Linked DNA regions of Homo sapiens: all the other regions are linked to region 1. The links are contacts of gene promoters, found by promoter capture Hi-C in human tissues and cell types (Jung and others, 2019). All regions are on one chromosome and are shown on one strand. Each heading gives the region's core, a stretch centred on a gene start or on the middle of the fragment in contact. The rest is flanking DNA. Distances are from core to core; before and after follow the strand shown.

Region 1 (2,954 bases), core at 239-2,738:
GGCTGTGCTCTGGGGGGCCCAGGCCTGCCTCCTGTGGCTGCGTTCAAGGCAGCTTGGAGGTCATTTAGGCCAGCTCCCCCGGGTTCCCCGTGGGCTCAAATCAGGACCCAGACCCTTCTCTCTTGCCACAGCTCTGGGCCACCTGGGACTCGGGACTTCCTGTCTCCCTTCCTACTCTGTCCTAAACCATTGTTCAGAGGCCTGCCGCCTCCAAGAATCGCCGAGGGAGAAGCTCCAGGGGAACTGGCCTGCCCGCATCCCCACTGCCAGTAGCGCTCAGGGTCCCAGGACTCGGGTCTTGCCAGACCACAGTGTCCCCTGGGACCCTAGGGTCTCTGGCTCCGCACTGTGTTGCGCCAGTGCGCCTGGATTTCCCGTGAGCTTTCGGCCAACCACGCTCCGGGCTTCCCGCCTGGCTCCGCACCTGCGGCGCTCTCACCTGCGGCGGCGCCGCCCGAGGAGCCTCCCAGCCGGCGAGGAGCGAGGCTTCTGCAGTCCTGCTGTCCCGCAGCCCCGCAGCCCCGCAGCCTCGCAGCCCCGCAGCCCCGCAGCCCCGCAGCCCCGCAGCCCCGCAGCCCAGCGCCAGAGCGCTGCGCGGAGACTCCTTGCCGCCGCACGCCCTGGGCCGGTAAGAAGCATCCGCTTCAAATCCCGCCCAGCGGGCAGCGCAAAGCGAGCGGTTTGGGGAAATGCCGAAGGGACCGGGAAAAACAAACTCCAAGTCGAGTTTAACAGCCGAAACGCTCCGTGCCTAGGCCGGCGGACAAGAAGGAGACAGAACAGATCCCTTGGCTCCCTCGCAGCGATCGATCCCGTTTACCGACCAGAGTCACCACCCCGCCCCCAGCCCGCCAACTCATACCTCCCGCAAGCCACCAGTTTCAAGGGATGCGGAAGCCAAGCACCCCGTGGTCCCCAGCACCAGGTGACCCGCACGTGCACTCACCGTAGCAGGGAACCTGCAAGGCCGCGCTGTGGCCGCTGCTGCCTTCCTGGAGTTTGAGGCTGCCGTCCGGGGGCGTCTTGCAGGCGCCTCGCTGCAAGTAAAGATGCGGTTGCGCGGGCGGCTGGGGCTGCGGCTGCTGCTGCTGCGGCTGCGGCTGCGGCGGCGGCTGGGGCTGCGGGGTCGACGGCTGGGGCTGGAACTTGTTAAAGGAGCCCCGCGCCCCAGCTCCACTCTCCAGGGGTGTCGCCAGGTCCTGCTGCCCAGCGCCGTAACGGGCCCGGCTCTTGGCGTCCCCGAATCCCTGTGCTTTGGCGGCGGCCGACAGGAAAGTTGTGCCGAACTTGTCGCCTCCGGGAAATGCCCTAAAAGGCGACGAGCCCTCCCGACTCTGCGACACCGGGCTGTAGTAGGCGTCCATGGCAGCGGCCGGCGACTCGCAGTAAGAGACGCAAGTCTCAGCATTCATGCCTGGCTTGCGCAGGCGGCGGGCGGGGACGCGAGCGAGGGCGCGAGGACGCCACCGCGCGCCTTGGCTGGGAGTTTGGGGAGGCGAGGAGGCTGTGGCTGTGCACTCCTTGCCCGGCCTGCTCGCTCTCCCTCCTCCCCTCCACGCCGGCCTCTCTCTCTCTCCCCCTCTTCTTTCTCTGTCTCTCTCCTCTCTCTCCCTCCTCTCTCTCTCTTCCCCTCCCTCCCCCCCCCTTCCTCTCTCTCTCCCTCTCTCTCTTTCCTCCCTCCCCACAGCTAGCCGAGGGAAAGAACGGAGGGCAGTAAAAAGATTCAGATGTTTCGGAAAGTTGACCAGATCTCCCAAACCCTCTTAAGGTTTTGCAGCGGAAAAAAAAAATAAGTAAATTTTTTTCCCTGCCTTGCTTCTTCCTTTCCCCCTCTCTCGTCCCCTCCTCCTCTCTCCTTCCACTGGCCCCTGCCCCCTCCTCTCCACTCTTAAGGAGATGCTACTAACTCGCTAGCGGGGATTCAACCCGGAGGCGCCCGAGGGCTTTTCCGATTCTAGGCGGGGCTGGGGAGATGCCAGGATCCCCAGGGCTCCCGAGGCTAGGCTGAGAATTGGCGGGGTGTCGGAGCTTTGCCTTAGGGCAAAGGGAAATGCAAATTTTAATGACAGGTTAAAAAAAAGCCCCCCAAAATAAACCTAACAGGTTTTGACATTCGAAGCCAGGGGGACCACGGGCCTGCGGATGCAAGCGAGTCCTACGGACTCCTGCGCGCGAGCTCGCGGGCGCCGCTGCGGGCCTTCCCGCTGGCACCTTTTCCTAGGTTTCCAACCTTCCTCCCCATTCCCGTTCCTACGGGAGATTAACACACACACAAGCCTTCGTCGTCCAGTGCATGGTCACTTGCACGTCTTGTTAACTATTTCCCTCTGCTGTAAGGGCGCTGGGCTGGGATGTAGCGGAATCTGTGCTCCCTCAAGCCCTGGAGAAGCCCTGGGCTGGGCCCGGCTTCAGAAGCTTTAGAGCGCTGCCCTCTGCGCTCCCGTCTAGAGGCCGCACCGTTCACGCCCCACGTCTGCGCCCAGGCGAGGGGATTTCCTGCCAGGCGAAGTACAGAGAGCGGACTCTGGAGACCCCCTGACCTTGCCCGATAGTCGCGCTGTCACCTGTTCACTCCTTGGGGTCAGGGGTCGGGGAGAGGGGTGAGACCGTCTCTTCCCTTTCTGGCCTCACTGCCCCCGACTGTAAAACGAACTGCTTGGTTTTGATAGGTTGTGGTTTCACCACCACTGCGAGCCTCAAGGCCCCTGGCACCGCCACAGCAAGGGAAAAAACTTTGCGCGTGCAGCCCCTCGATTTCGCTTCATGACAACCGTGCTAGAGATTGGCGCCCCCAATTTTCTGATGAGCTAACGGAGGCTCAGAGAGGGGCGGCCACCTGGTCCAGGTCACACAGCTGGGAAATAGCCGTCGCGCCCTGGAACCTCTGCTCAGGCTAGTCCCTCCACCGACCTGGAAGGCCGTGCGGACAGCGTAGATGCAGAGGGGAAACTGGC
Region 2 (3,052 bases), core at 210-2,709, 100 kb after region 1:
GGAGTGGGACAGCTATTGATTTGTTGGCCTATAATCTCTTTATTTTCCCTTTCACTGGTGACATGTTTTCCCGTTCCCCTGAAGGACATCACCTTCTTTATTCCATGTGCTTCTGGCAGAGATATCCATCCCAGAGCCTTCCCCTGTCCTTGTACCGTGGCTCACATATGATGTTGTGTCTCTGTTAGAATGCTTTCACTTCCAAGTAACAGAATGCACAGCTAACTTAAACAATAAAGACATGTAATTGTCTCCCATAAGAACAAAATCTGGAAGCAGAGATCTCTGAAATTTGGTGAAACAGCTGAATAATATCATCAAAGACTCAGATTTTTATTATTCTACTGGTATTACTGTGTTGGAGTTTTGTCTTTAGGTTTGTTGGCTTATGGTGGCAAGAGGGCTGCAGTGGCTTTTGCATCATGAATATGTTCAAAAGCAGGGATGGAAGCATCTTTTCTTCTTGCTAACCTGGCTCTTACCAGAGAGAGACTTTCCCAGAGTATACCAGCATGCTTCCCCTTACAACTCACTGGCAGAATGGAGCCGTCTGGCTACCCTCAACTATAAGCAAAGCTGGGAAAGTTGAGTTTCCGATTTTTTCAGCCTTCAAAATAGGAAATGGGTAAAGAAGAGCAGAAATGGATACTTGGTAGATAACAAAGGGTGTTTGCCTCATAAAGACACAGCCAATCATGTCTACAAGGGTTGGTCCAAAGAGTAATCATATGGTGGAAACAGGGCCTATCAGAGTTCTCTCTGGGATTTTACACAAGGATGCTCAAAAGAGACGCACTAGGTCTTCTCAAGTCAAAGGGCTGAGCTAATATAAGCTTGGGATTCTTTGTGGCTGTGGCCCTTTCCTTTCTCCTGCTGAGTGGAGGGAGCTGGTCTTCAGTAGGAGAAAAGGAGGCCAATGCAAAGTAGAGCAGAACAAAGGATGAAGAGAGACAGATGGGGCAGGGGGAGAATGAACATATTTGAATTCCTGATTCCTCATTACTGAGAAGTGCTTTGGACTTCCTGAATTTTGCTTAAATAAATTCAAATTGGATTTTAATTATTTACAATCAAAGTTTTCTGATTGTTTCCAGGCTCATTGATAGCTTTCAGCATCCTAAGGACAGGTATCTTCTTGCTCCCAGTGGGTCATGGGACAGAAATGGGTATGTTGAACCCTTCCCCGCACTTCTGATGCCTGGAAAAGGGACTTGGCCAGAGGCTTGAATCTACAGTTAACCAAATCCAAGCCTAGGAACCACAGACAGATTGCCATAGGCTAGATGAGGGCCCCAGTGTATGTCTTCTTGGGGCAGAAAGGGATATCAGTTACCCCAATCTCGGTGACCAGGACAGTTTCAGAGTCCAGCCCAGTCCATGTTACAAAAGATAATAATAAAGCCAACGCTTAAAGAATGTCACTAAGTGCCAGTTTACATTTATTATCTTATTTAATTCTTACCATAGCCCTCCCAGACCACTTTAGCAATGAAAGATGCCATTTTGGCAATGAATAAAGTAAGGCACAGAGAGGTTTAAGAGAAATGTATATGCAACAGTAACGTAGAAACCTTTCTTCAAGTCTTCATTATTTCAAGAACTATCTTTTTTCCCTAACACTTAAAATGCTTATGTGAATTTTGTGTGTGTATATAAGTTATACATAGCGGGACATGCATACTGTTGGCCCTCTGTATCCACAGGTTCTGCATCTGCAGATTCAACTAACAGTGGATGGAAAATATTTGGGAAAAAAGGCAAGAAAAATATAATAAAAATAATACCAATAAAAAACACAGTGTAACAACTATTTACATAGCATTTACATTGTATTAGGTATTAAAAGTAATCTAGAGATGATTTAAAATATACAGGAGGATGTGCCTAAGGTAGATAGAAATACTATGCCATTTTATATAAAGGGCATGAACATCTCTGGATTTTGGCATCTGCAGGGATCTGGAACCAATCCCCTACAGATCCAGAATAACTGTATATGTATATTTTTCAGGCTTTGTACTTGGGTAATTTCAATCAATCCCTATTTTCTTAAACTAGTTGCTTCAATGTAAAACCTGAATTTTTTATTTTCACAGATAGTTATAGGTAAAAATCCAGTGGTATCTTGCTTCATGGTAGAAATGCATACTGGCAGAATTGTGTACAGAGTGGAATATTATGAAGGTATGGGGATGAAAAGATACTGGGTGGGGTTACCTTTCTTAGAGATCTTTTAAAGTAGGATTGCATTGGTTTTCTATTGCTGCAGAACAAGTTAGCACAAACGTAGTGGCTCAAACCAACACACACAAAACTATCTCCCAGTTTCTGTGGCTCAATAGTCTGGGCACAGTCTAGCTAAATCCTCTGCTTGGGCTTCAATCCAGAAGTTGCTGGAGCTGTAGTCTCATCAGAAGCTTGGCTGAGGAAAGACTCATTCCAAACTCACTGAGGTTATCAGCAGAATTTATCTTCTTATGGCCGTAGGACTGATGTCTCCATTTTCTTGCTGGCTGTCAGCAGTTAGCTGCTATCAGCTTCTAGAGGCCAACCCAGTTCTTTGCCATATGCATCCCCACCACAACAACATGACACTTTATTTCTTTAAAGCCTGCAAGGGAGTCTCCTTCTCGAATCTGCTAAGATGGAGTCTTTTATAATGAAACATAATCATTGAAGTGACATCGCCTTTCCTTTGCAACATCCTATTGGTTGAAGAAAGTCACGTCACAGGTGTGTCCTTCACTCAAGGGGAAGGAATTCTAAAAGGACATGGCTCATGGGTGGTGGGCAGGGGTCACTTTGGGTATGTGTGCCACAGGATCATTCCTCAGATGCTTCTTGGTGGAGTTTTGGCTAAGGGTAAAAGGGTGGTTTTGATGAACTTCAAGGCATTTGTGATGATTAATACTGAGGGTCAATTTGATTGGATTGAAGGACACATAGTATTAATCCTGGGTGTGTCTGTGTGGGTGTTGTCAAAAGAGATTAACATTTGAGTCAGTGGGCTGGGGAAGGCAGACTCACCTTTAATCTGATGGGCACAATTTAA
Region 3 (3,227 bases), core at 431-2,930, 120 kb before region 1:
AGTAATACTACCTAGAAAGATGGTAATAGTTATATGATGATTTTTATAGACAGAGAAACTGAGGTACAAGAGAGATTAAGTACTTTGCCCAGGCTATGCAGCTGGCAAGTGAAAGAACCTGGATTCCGATTAAGAACTTGTGATTCCAAAACTGACTTCAAACATGCTAACTCAATTTTGAAGCCATTTGCATTAACCCTGGTGGTGTGTTCTACAGTAAATAATTGAGCCTGTGTTTGAGTAGATGTATGCTTAGAAGCTTACATACTGCCTCCTGTGTTCATCTCCACTTCTGGATTTTAAGGGACGGTATTGGCAAGATCCAGTTCTCCTTATGCTCCTTTCCATGCTGTCCATACCCCCCATGCTGCCTTCCCTGCTTCTCCAGTACTCAAGCCCTATTTGGGATGCAAGTGGGCAGTGGGGAAAAACAACATTAAGAAAAGTTACTGTCCACTTCCCAGCCAACCATTCCTTCCTGTCCTTCCTCCTCCCCTACCGATTCACTTCCCAAGTGGAGCTGGCATGTGGGATGAGACCCGATCTGTTGTCTTGCCAGCGACTCTGGTTCCATGTCCCTGGCAGCTCCTTGAAATCAGAGCTGCGATGCCTTTCAGGGCTGCCTCAGTTTAAATGCCAAGGCATTCGTTTTGTGAGCCTAAGCTTTGCATCTCTTAGGGAATTTTCCTCTCTTCTTAATGTCATAAAGACATTTAAGTGTGTTGGCATTCTCCCCTCTTCTCCCAAAGAACAGACCTCATTCTGTTGGAGTTTTAATAGTTTTTCCTTCTGTTTTAGTGGTGTATTTACCTTTTTAAATTTATGTGCACACTTTGTGTCAGTGTTATATATTCGGTGTGTTTTTATTCCATAGACTTTCTGAAATCATAGTGTTTGGGGTGGGTTCTTGCTTATTGGCCCAGATTTTATTAACAAGGATCAAGAACTTTTAGGATTTTTGTCTTAGAAAAGAGCTAGAAGTAGCAAACTCTGGAGTTCCCCACACTTGAATTTTCCAAAGTCTATAAAATGGTAATGCATACCCAGTTTGGGTATGTATGTAGGAGGGCATAGGGAAGGGCTGTGAACCATTACCGTCTGGTGTTCTGAAATCAGATTGCTTGAGTTGTATCTCAGTTCCATCACTTACAGGTTATATAGCCTTGAACATCATTTGCTATTTCTAGTTCTACAGTTTCCTCATCTGTAAAGTGAGAACAATAACCGTATCTATCTTGGGGGTTGTTGTGAATATCTAATGAGGTAATACATGTAAAGCACAGTATTTTGCACTTAGTAAGTACTCAGTAAATCTTGACTGTTTCAATATCACACATTAAATCATTTTATACACTTTTTTAAAGGAATCTTTTTGTTTCTTTTCCACTTAAAATGGTGTTTTTCAAGCAGGCATTAGTGAGTATTGTGTCAAGAGGGTTAGGTGAGTGGGTTGGGGATAGTGATGGCACATAGACCATGAACGGTCCCTGGGGATTAATTATGACTTAAATATAGGGCTACTTTCTGACTTCAGTTTCCATAAAGGTCAGGAAGAGATGAAGAATAAAATTTGGGGTAGAAAACTCAAAAAGGTTTCTAGAAGTACAATGAGTTGCTAAGGTACAAATACTAAAATCCAGGCACCTTCCTAAGACTACAGCTTAATATCAAAGTGTGATGTCATGGAAACAGAAGATCAACATTGAAAAGATGGCCTTTCCTGGCCGGGCGCGGTGGCTCACACCTGTAATCCCAGCACTTTGGGAGGTTGAGGCAGGTGGATCACCTGAGGTCGGGAGTTCGAGACCAATCTTACCAACATGGAGAAACCCGGTCTCTACTAAAAATACAAAATTAGCCCAGTGTGGTGGTGCATGCCTGTAATCCCAGCTACTTGGGAGGCTGAGACAGGAGAATCTTTTGAACCCGGGAGACGGAGGTTGAGGTGAGCCGAGATTGCACCATTGCACTCCAGCCTGGGCAACGAGTGAAACTCTGTCTCAAAAAAAAAAAGAAAAAGAAAAGATGGCGTTTCCTATTGTGTCTCTTGGTTGTGAAATCTAATTATAGCATGTTGTGGACATTTTGGCTTTAATATCCTGATTACATTAGGACCCTAGGAATCCCATTCAGCTTCTTTGAGTTTCCATCCCATATGTATTCCATGGGTTTGTGTGCATTTCTCATCCCACACTGTTACATCTGGCAGACAGCTGTTGTCACAAAGTTGGTGATGGGTGTCCATCAGTGATATGGATGAGATTGATAGGGAACCTTGGCAATCCCAGAGTATAAAAGACTAGGGAAGTATGCAGCAGCCATAATAGCAGATAGGACATTTCATTCTCAGCCACCTTCTGGCAAAGATGGAATTCAGTCCTGGGCTTTTTGCATGATAACATATGAATATGAATGTAATTAATGCCACCGAATTACACATTTAACAATGGTTAAAATGGCAAATTTAATATTATATATATTTTACCACAATTTTTAAAAGTGAACAATGTAATATACCAAAACCATTATATGCTTTAAGTGGGTAGATTGTATGGTATATGAATCATATCCTAATAAAGCTGGTAAAATATATAAGAACATTTAAATAATCTTAATTATTATCAGTGCAAAAATATTTTTGCTTACATTGCTGTATTAAAAGTACTTAATATTTTAATGGTAGCAAAGAGATTGACTTTCTTTCATCACTTTTTAAACTTTATTTTAAAAACATTTCACATTTAACTGATAACTTTTGAGAATTGTACATTGAACTCACATGTTCCTCACCTATTTTCACACATTGTGAACATTTTCTCTTTATTCTCTGTGTTCAGAAATATGCACTTTGATATGGCAGTGGTTTTTGTTTTTTTATTTTTGTCTTTTTAAAAAATTCACTGTGCTGCTTCTGTTAATCCTTTGCAATCTGAAAATTCATGCCTCTTATATCTTAACGTACTGAGAACTTCTTTAATTTCTTTGATAGATTTACTTCTCCCATAGTCTGTGTTTTCTTTTCTGGAATCTCCTATTAAATAGATGTTGGACCTTCTAGATTTTCTCATTTTCTCTGTCCTTATTTTTCATCTCTGCCTTTTTGTTCACCAGTCTGGAATATTTTGTCATCTTTATCTTGCAATCCTGACCTTTTTTCCCCCGACTGACAGGACCAACCAGGTAGCAATCCTGCCCTCAAAAAATAATTTAAACTATTATATTTTTAA

The links. Contacts are between HindIII fragments. The study calls those that stand out against the background at their distance.
Region 2: a fragment that was not itself captured here is called in contact with the fragment with the promoter of ALX4 in region 1 in 4 of the 25 tissues and cell types used here (H1 embryonic stem cells, bladder, spleen and 1 more).
Region 3: a fragment that was not itself captured here is called in contact with the fragment with the promoter of ALX4 in region 1 in 2 of the 25 tissues and cell types used here (H1 embryonic stem cells and mesenchymal stem cells).

What each region holds. Positions count from the first base shown.
Region 1 is chr11:44,308,651-44,311,604 of GRCh38, forward strand. ALX4 (ALX homeobox 4) reads right to left here and starts at 1,489. Exons shown (of 4, transcript NM_021926.4): 1 at 947-1,489. The coding sequence starts at 1,412. RefSeq lists an enhancer at 1,467-2,395. The HindIII fragment of the contact is 16,665 bases long and covers 1-2,954 here.
Region 2 is chr11:44,411,964-44,415,015 of GRCh38, forward strand. No RefSeq gene overlaps it. Among named protein-coding and RNA genes, the nearest start is that of ALX4, 100 kb to the left of the region's middle. RefSeq lists an enhancer at 2,180-3,052. The HindIII fragment of the contact is 5,501 bases long and covers 1-3,052 here.
Region 3 is chr11:44,193,431-44,196,657 of GRCh38, forward strand. All of the region lies in intron 8 of EXT2 (exostosin glycosyltransferase 2), which reads left to right. Among named protein-coding and RNA genes, the nearest start is that of EXT2, 99 kb to the left of the region's middle. The HindIII fragment of the contact is 7,479 bases long and covers 1-3,227 here.